Linked DNA regions of Homo sapiens: region 1 is linked to region 2. The links are contacts of gene promoters, found by promoter capture Hi-C in human tissues and cell types (Jung and others, 2019). All regions are on one chromosome and are shown on one strand. Each heading gives the region's core, a stretch centred on a gene start or on the middle of the fragment in contact. The rest is flanking DNA. Distances are from core to core; before and after follow the strand shown. Region 1 has its middle 62 kb from the start of IL33. Region 2 holds the start of IL33 (interleukin 33).

The links. Contacts are between HindIII fragments. The study calls those that stand out against the background at their distance.
Region 1: a fragment that was not itself captured here is called in contact with the fragment with the promoter of IL33 in region 2 in 1 of the 25 tissues and cell types used here (liver).

Annotation. Positions count from the first base shown.
Region 1 is chr9:6,151,085-6,155,565 of GRCh38, reverse strand. No RefSeq gene overlaps it. Among named protein-coding and RNA genes, the nearest start is that of IL33, 62 kb to the left of the region's middle. RefSeq lists an enhancer at 1,681-2,880. The HindIII fragment of the contact is 5,106 bases long and covers 1-4,481 here.
Region 2 is chr9:6,212,599-6,217,643 of GRCh38, reverse strand. IL33 (interleukin 33) reads right to left here and starts at 1,837. Exons shown (of 8, transcript NM_033439.4): 1 at 1,792-1,837. The HindIII fragment of the contact is 11,056 bases long and covers 1-5,045 here.

The DNA of each region.
Region 1 (4,481 bases), core at 745-3,244, 62 kb after region 2:
TAATTTCCCCTGTGATTTTTACTTTGGTTGTTTAAGAGTTTGTTGTTTAATTTCCACAAATTTATACATTCTCCATTTCACTTCGGTTATTGATTTCTAACTTTATGTCATTTGGTCAGAGAAGATACTTTGTATGATATCCATCTTTTAAAAATCTATTGAGACTTAATTTGTGGCCTAACATATGATGTATCCTGCAAAATGTCCCATGTGCACTTGAGAAAAGTTTGTATACTGTAGTTGTTGGAGAGAGGATTGTGTATATACCTGTTAGTCTGGTTGGTTTATTGCATTGTTTAAGTCTTCTGTTTCCTTGCTTATTTTCTGTCTGGTTGTTCTCACCATTATTGCGAGTTGGGTATTGAAGTCTCCAACTATTGTTATAGAACTATCTCTTTTTCCCTTTCATTCTGTAAGCTTTTGCTTTATGTGTTTTGATGGTCTGTCCTTAGATGGGTAAATGTTTATAATTGAATATCTTCTTGCTGTGTTGGGTCTTTTATTAATATATAATGTCCTTCTTTGTCCACTATAGCCCTGTAAGTTTATTTCGCCTGGGAGCAGTGGCTCATGCCTGTGCTCCTAGCATTTTGGGAGGCCGAAGCAGGTGGAACACTTGAGCCCAGGAGTTCTAGACTAGCCTGGACAACATGGTGAAATGCCATCTTTACAAAAAAATACAAAAGTTAGCGGGGCATGGTGACGCTTACCTGTAGTCTCAGCTACTTGGGAGGCTGAGGTAGGAGGATTGCTTGAGCCTAGGAGGTCAAGGCTACAGTGAGCCAAGATTGTGCCACTGCACTCCAACCTGGGTGACAGGGTGAGACCCTGTTAAAAAAAAAAGTCTATTTTGTCTGATATTATTATACCCACTCCTACTGTGTTTTGGTTACTATTGGCATGGAATATTTTTTCCATGCTTCCACTTTTAATCTGTTTATATCTTTGGATCTAAAGTAAGTCTTTTGTAAACAGTAAATAGTCAGACCATGTATGTATCCATTCTGCTAATCCCTGTCTTTTGATGGTAGAGTTTAATCCATTTGCATTTAAAGTATATACTGATAAGGAGAAACTTAATTTTTTTCATTTTGCTATTTGTTTTTTATGGCTTATAGCTTATTTGCCTCTCATTTCCTGCATTTATTGACTGTCTTCTTTCATGTTTAGTTGATTTTTTGCAGTGAAATTTTAAAATTTCTTTCCATTTCCTTTTGTGTACATTCTTTAGCTATTTCCTTTATGGTTTAATGGGGATTGCACTTAACATCCTAAAGTTATAATACTCTAATTTGAATTTATACCAGTTTAACTTCAATAACATACAAAACTCTGTTTCTTTACAATTCTGTCCCCACCTCTTTCCGTTGTTAATGTCATAAAATTACATCTTTTTATATTTCATGCCCCAAAACATAAAGTAATAATTTATTTACATACATTAGTCTCTTAAATTATCTAGAAGATTGGCCAGACATGGTGGCTTATGCCTGTAATCCCAGCACTTTGGGAGCCCAAGGTGGTTGGATCACCTGAGGTCGTGAGTTTGAGACCAGCCTGGCCAACAAGGTGAAACCCTGTCTCTACTAAAAATACAAAAATTAGCTGGGCATGGTGACGGGCACCTGTAATCTCAACTACTGGGGAGGCAGAGGCATGAGAATCTCTTGAACCCAGGAGACAGAGGTTGCAGTGAGCCGAGATTGCACCACTGCACTCCAGCCTGGGCAACAGCGCAAGATGCGATCTCAAAAAAAAAAAAAAAAGTAGAAAATAAAATGTGGGGTGATAACCTACAGTTCATATTTGGCAGTTTACTTTAAAAGTAAACAGGGCTTCTTAAATTAACCTATCTTGGGGCAGTCTTGTGATTCATGGCAACATCCTGTTCATGAGTAAAGAATCTTATCTGAGTTTCTCAAATTATTGACGTATAATGATTAATTTATAACCTACTGACATCAAAAAGGCTGCTGATTTGTTTCTGAATCATAATGTTTTGGTGATTTGTTTCTGAATCATGAAGTTTCACTGATTGTCTTGTGCATAGAATTTTAACCTGTATGTTGCCCTGTATGTCATACTTTGCAGCCAATCTTTGTGTTGTACCCTCCAATGAAAAAGGACAACTTCACTATGAGGAGCCCCTCTCCCTTCTCCTAAACTTACTTATAAAAGCCTTCCAACTTGTAACAGATTCTGGAACACTCCCAACTTTCTGATGTGTCTTCCCAGGTTGATCCTCACATTTGGCTTCCAATAAACCTTTATCAAATTATTTCTGCCTCAACAGCCTTAATTTCTGTCAATAGGAGTTACAAGCCAAAGTTAACAATAATACTAGCTTTTAGACTAATAGTTTTTAACGTATGAATCTCAAACCATGCAAAAAACAAAAAATGGAGTTACAAACCATTGTTACAATAATACTAGCTTCTATAATTGTCCATGTATTTACCTTCATTGAGATTTTTATTTCTTCATATAGCTTTGAGTTACTGTCTAGTGTTCTTACATTTCACCTTGCAAGACGTAAGCATTTCTTGCACGGCAGGTTTAGTAGTGAACTCACTCAGCTTTTGTTTATCTGGGAATATTTTAATTGCTTCCTCGCTTTTGAAGGAGAGTTTTGCAAGATAAAAGATTCTTGATTGACAGGTTTCTTTTTCTTTTCGCACTTTGAATTTATTAACCCACTGGCTTCTGTTTTCCAAAGTTTCTGATGAGAAATCTGATGATATTCTAATTGAGGATCTCTTGTAAGTGACAAATTGCTTCTCTCTTGCCACTTTCAAGATTCTGTTTTTGTCTTTGGTTTTCAAAAGTTTGATTATAATGTGTTTTTGGGTGAGTCTCTTTAAATTCTTCTTATTTGGAGTTTGTTGAGTTCTTGTATGTTTATGTTCAAGTCTGTCATCACATTTGTGAAGCTTTCAGCCATTATTTCTTAAAATATTCTCTCTACCCGCCTCTCTCTCTAATCTTCAGAGACTCCCAAAATGTATATGATGGTGTCCTACAGCTTATCTAGGTTTTATTTATTTTTCTTCGGCCTTTTTTCTATTCCTCAGACTCAGTGATTTCCATTGTTCTATCTTCACCTTTCACTATTTTTATCTTCTGGATGCTCAAGTATGTCTTTTAGTCCTTGTAGTGAATTTTTTATCTTGGTTTTATTTTTCCACTCCTTGCTTTCTTTTTGGTTTATTTTTAGGTTTTTCTGTATCATCATTGATTTTTCCATTTTGTTCATGTATCATATATTTTTTCTGGTCTTTCTTCACATCTTTCTTTAGAATATTGAGCATCTTTAAGACATCTGTTTAAAAGTCTTCATCTAGTATATCTGACATCATATCTTTTTCAGGGATGGTTTCTGTTGATTTATTTTTTTCTTTGAATAGACCATACTTTCCTGGTTTTTGTTTTTTTTTTTTGTATGTCTTGTGATTTTTTTTTGGTTGACATTGAAAACTGGACATTTGAATCTAAAAATGTGGTAAATCTGGAAATCAAGTTCTTCTCCTTTTCCAGAGTTTGCTAGATTTAGTCATTGTTTTTGTTTACTCTTTTTTATTGTTGTATGTCTGATATATATAAACTTAAGGTCCTTTCAGGTCTTTTCTGAGCCTGAGCCTTTCCCTGGGTATGCATGGTCACTTTCTAATTTCCCCCTCTATGAAGTTGTTTCTGAAAGTCCTAGTCTTTAACGTCTGGTTCCCAAAAGGGAATCAAAAATATTAAGGGGGAAAAATGGCCCTGGTCCTTTGAATCCCCTGGAAGTCATCTCAGATGGATGGGAGGGGCTTGCAAAAAGGGTAGAGGTGAAACAATAGCTGTTCACTTCTTTGTCTGTACCACTGTGATCAGAAGCAGTGATTGGCAATCCAAATACAGATCCCCAATATTTGGAGGACAGGATCCTTTTTGTTCATTCTGGCTGCTTCAAGCTGCTACAGGAACTCCCAAAAATGACCCCAGAAGCAAGACCTAAGATTTAAAAGAAAACAGAGCTATTGGAGACTGTGAAGGGAGATACTTTGAGGGACAAAGCTGACCAAAGGAGGATGGTAGAATAAAAACATGGAAGGAATATGGATGACATTATTAAACCAATGAATTATGTATACATGGAGAAACCCTATATTGGAACTTCTTGTGTAAAACAACTTTTCCCATTCTGAGAGAGAGAGAGAGAGCATGTGTGCATGATTCAAGAAAGAATAAAGTGTATCAAATTCTGTGGGGTGGTCAAGTAGGATAAGAATGGAAAAGAGTCCTTTAGTTTTGACTATAGGAAGTTCATTGATGATCATAGTAAGAGCAGGTCAGTCTTTCATGAGACTCGGCTGCACTCTCTTACCCTTGGAATTTAGGAAGAGACACACCTCAGGAGTTGTTACTAAAAGGATATCTGTGTAAGTTGGTCTGAGTAAATTTCCTTTGCTCACAACCAAATGAATTTTGAATATGAAGTGTTA
Region 2 (5,045 bases), core at 588-3,087:
TTTCTCCACTTAGGGTATCAATTCCTTGTTTTTCCACAAAAGTTTATTTTTGAGGGGGTGGTACCTCTCAATTCTTGTATTTGAAACTGACAGTGAGAAATAACAGTGAGAAAATTATGACAGTGAAGGAGATCTGACATAACCAACCCCCATCATGCTTTTAACTTCCATATTGCCTTTGGTCATTCCTGGGCTTGGGCCAAGCTAACTTTGGGAGAAATTTAGGGTATGGTTTAAATGATAATAACCCTTCACCAAAAGTAAACCACCTTGGTAAAAATAATGAAAGACCACCAAGTTAGGAGTTTGAGAGGGTCCTGAATTCTGCTAAGATGTAGGCATAGTAAAATGATTACTAGCCATGATTCTGGAGGTCACAAGATTTGCAACTTCCCCAGTGACTACTGTAAATAACATCACTATTGTATAAGCTAAGATTGACCTTCAGAGATGTCTGTTCAGGCTTTTGCATTTCTGATGACCAGTGACTACTCTGTGGCTCCCACCCAGAAATAGACTCAGTGCATACACGAGGACCATTTTTCACATGCCTGTGATTTTATTCCCAACCAATCAGCAGCACCTATTCCCCTAAGCCCTTTGCCCATCAAACTAACCTTGAAAAACCCTAGCCTCCAAATTTTTGGGGAGATTTGAATAATAACTTTGAATCCTCTGTGGCATGGCTGGCTGGCCCTGTGTCAATTAAACTCTTCACTGCCATGCCATGGTTTCAGTGAATTGGTTTTGTCTGTGCAGATCAGAGATTAAAGTCCAGGGTCAGGTCCCATTAAGAAAAAAGAACTAAAGAACAATTCCAAACTACTTCATTTAGTGCATCTCTAATCCTCTTTGTGAAGCTATTTTTTATTCAAAGTTTCCATCATTTTTTTTGGAGATGACATTTAGCTCTTGTTACCCAGGCTGGAGTGTAATGGCATGATCTTGCCTCACTGCAACCTCCACCTCCTGGGTTCAAGCGATTCTCCTGCCTTAGCCTCCCGAGTAGCTGGGATTACAGGTGCCCACCACCACACCCAGCTAGTTTTGTTTGTTTGTTTTTGTATTTTTAGTAGAGACAGGGTTTCATCCTCTTGGCCAGGCTGGCTGCAAACTCCTGACCTCAGGCGATTCACCCACCTCGGCCTCCCAAAGTGTTGGGATTACAGGCTTGAACCACCACACTTAGTGATGTCCCCCTTTTACTGAAAACCACTTGTAAACAATTGCAAGCATGTTTGTCTTGAGTAAGCATTAGGAGTTAGAAGTAGAATTATCAACTTGCTTTATAAAGTTTCCAGCCTGGCAACAAAGCAAAGACCCTATCTCTACATAAACTAAAAAAATTACCCAGGCATAGTGGCGTGTGCCTGTAGTTCCAGCTGCTTGGGAAGCTGAGATGGGATGATTGCTTGAGCCCAGGAATTGGAGGCTGCAGTGAGCTAGGATCACGCCACTGTGCTCCAGCCTGCGCTACAGAGCAAGATCCCATCTCTTAAAAAACATAAAATAAAATAAAATAAAGTTTCATGGAGGGGGCAGAATTTACTATAAAAACTATTACAATCTCTTTCAGCAATTTATTAATTTTACAAATCACCCAAAGGAAAGCAAATGGAATTATAAGTTAGTAACAGCTATTGTCATTGACTTTTACTGCTATTAGCAATAATAACAAATTGGCCTTATCATTTATTTTTCAGGAAAAAAAAAAAAACACAGTTCTCCATGGTTCCCAAGGTTTAACTTTGCAAAATCTGACTAAAAATCTCCCAGAATATTCAGTCTTACCTTGTGATCTTGTTTTGATTTCTTCCCTGAAGAGCTGCAGCTCTGTGTTCGGAGGAGTCTGTAGACTCTTTTTATTAGCCAAAGTTTGGCAGAGACCCAAATTGCCTTAGAAGGGAGATCTGGGCGGGTGAGATTTTAGCAGGCTTGAAATCTCATGTAAAGAGCCAACAGAGTTACAATTCTGTCAACATCTAAGGCTCACTACTTTCTGCGTCCTCCCTCCATCTGAATATTTTAAACCAGCAATTATGATTCTTCTTCTGCCCCTAAACTTTATGTTTTGGCTCTCTTTGGAGTTGAACTCCTAAACTTCAACTTCAGCACTGTCCATTTTGAAATTCTGTTGCCATTTATATATTCACTTTTGGCCGTTGGCTTCTTAATTTACAAACTTCATTAAGAGATCAGTGTATTCTTCCAAATTCCTTTATAATAGAAATTTGCGACCCCCTTTGGCCTATCAGTAATAAGCAGCTCGTCTGCAAATAAAAGCTCTGAAATACTCTGTATTCCAACATATCTGACGGGCTTTCCTGCTCCCCACTGTTCATCTTTTCTTTCTATTCATCTCAAAAATCTCGCAGAAGATAATACTTTATCACAAAAGCAAATCCTGTACTATAGATCCCATGAGAAGTTGTTCTTCTTACCTCATGAGAAATTTTGCTCCTACTCACCCTCTCTCCATCTCGTTTGGCATCTGTAGCAGAAAATAAAGGGATGAAGTAATGCTCTTTTAAGACTTGGACTGATTCCACATCCTAAGATCACACATTGGAAGGAAGACTGCTGCTGTACTTAGAAGGATATTGTGATGGACTGTTACCCTAGCAAGCCTCTACATCCATTCAATCTACAAGATTAGAAGGGTGACCTTGAAACAAAGGGGCAGCAGAAAAAAGTTTACTGTAAAATGAAATAGGAATTTTTTAGTTTTTCTCATGGCATGTTGAAGGATAGAATGTTAGGGTTCTGGAATCCAGGGGAAAGAGAAAATGAGACAGCAACAGATGGCTGACCAGGCTTGGGAAAATGTGACTATGATGGAGTCCCCTTTGGAAAAAACAACTAAGGAACTCTGTTATCTTGTTTAAAGTTGTTTCATTTTCTGTGCAGTAATCCCCTTTAATCATCCCCAAACCTGAGCAATCATCTGCTACAAGCCATAGTGTTGCATTTGTGAGTAATGAAGAAAGATGGCTATGTCTGCCCTTTGGATAAAGCAGTGAAGCAAGCGGACAGGATGCCAACATGACAAGAATGAATCAGGAATTGAGCTGTGTGCAATAAATAGGAGGGAGGGGTGACAAGTAACAGCCAAGGGAATATTAGCATACTCTACTCTGGGAATTCTTGCAAATACTGAGGAAATTACAAAGGATGAATAATGTATCTTTATTATGTATATTGAACCCTCCTTCATTATTTCAAAAATTTCTCTTTTTATCTCTAATTATGCTTCATGCCTTAAAGTCTGCTTTGTCCATTTGTCTGCTTTCTCCATTAGCAGAGCTTTGCAAACATTCTTTTGGTTAGTATTCACATAGTGTATCTCTTTTCATCTTTTTTCTTTCAAACTTTCTGTGTCCTTACATTAAAGATGTGTCACATATAAGTAGTATACTGGTTTTTTTTCCCAGTTTGACAATAATTTGTCTTTGAACTGGAACATCTATTGTAATTATTGATATATTTGAATTTGCTTCTACTATCTTACTTTTTTTCTCTGCTATTTTGTCCCCCTGGCTTATGCTCTTTTTTGGATAAAACAATTATTTATTTATTTATTTATTTATTTTGAGATGGAGTCTCGCTCCGTCGCCCAGGCTGGAGTGCAGTGGCGTGATCTCAGCTCACTTCAAGCTCCGCCTCCCAGGTTCACACTATTCTCCTGCCTCAGCCTCCTGAGTAGCTGGGACTACAGGCGCCCGCCACCATGCCCGGCTAATTTTTTGTATTTTGTAGTAGAGACGGGGTTTCACTGTGTTAGCCAGGATGGTCTCGATCTCCTGACCTCGTGATCTGCCCCCCTTGGCCTCCCAAAGTGCTGGGATTACAGGCGTGAGCCACTGTGTCTGGCCTGGATGAAACAATTTCTAAAAATTATTCAATTTTCTCCCAGCAGTCATGAACTATAACTCTTGACTTTTTATGAAACAAGAACAAAACCAAAAAGGCTGCTAAAACCACAGCTCTGCTTTTAAGAGGCTGATTTTTTTTTTTTTTTTTTTTTTTTTTGCCTTTGCCCCCATGCAGCTGCGTAATTCGGCAAGTGTTTTGAAGAGGAAACTCATTATATGTAGGTTCAGTTCTCCAGCCCTCTCTTCTTGCTGGGGGCCTGGCCCTTCCAATTTCCAATTTTGTCTCTTCATTCCCACAACACCGATCAACAGTGATTTCTCTGTCTCCTGGCAGTGACCTCCTACCTTGGTAAAATACAGATTCCCTGCCTTGGCCAATGCTCTCGTAACTATTAAAAAGTAGCTAACTACTGTTAGCTAATCTCTCCATGGAATCTTAGCCCCTCATCCTTCGTGCTTCAGCAGCTCTCTCCTGATCTGCCTTTCTGGTTGTACTCAATGGTAATATTGGACTGCCACAAGTTACTCCATGCTATTCAAGTAGCTAGTTGAATGAAGATGAAAGCATGGCTCTAGAAGGCAGGACGACTAAGGGTTAGGTCATACAGACTTTATTCTAGTAATCGTATAATTTGTTATCTGAATCATAAATTTTTGAGAATGAAAAGAATGTTATTAATCATTTGACCAGAATAATAGGAAAACACTGAGATATGGTTACCCCAGGTTTTGTGACTTTTATAGTTCTTCATCCCTAACCCCACTACTTCCCAAATCCCAAATCTGCCTTATTAACTTCCTCCTTTCAGGGTAGATGCAAGGTATATGGGTGACTGTCTAAAATTTTGCTGACTCATAGACATATACTTGATCTGGTTGCACAATTTTATTCCCAAAGGAAGAAAGTTCAAATTGATGTTTTGCTACCAACAGACCTTAAAAAATGAAAATTTAAAGGGTATACTTCACATGGAGGAAGGTGAACCCAAATGGTAGGCCTGAATATAAGCAGAATTGAAGAATCAAAAGTATGATAGATATTGAGGTAATGCTAAGACATATTAACGGTAAATACTGACAATAATATCTTGTAAGGTTAAGAAAAACAAACTAGAACTAAATACATTACAAAAATAGCCTATATGTCTGGAGAGATGATGATAGGAATGAGAG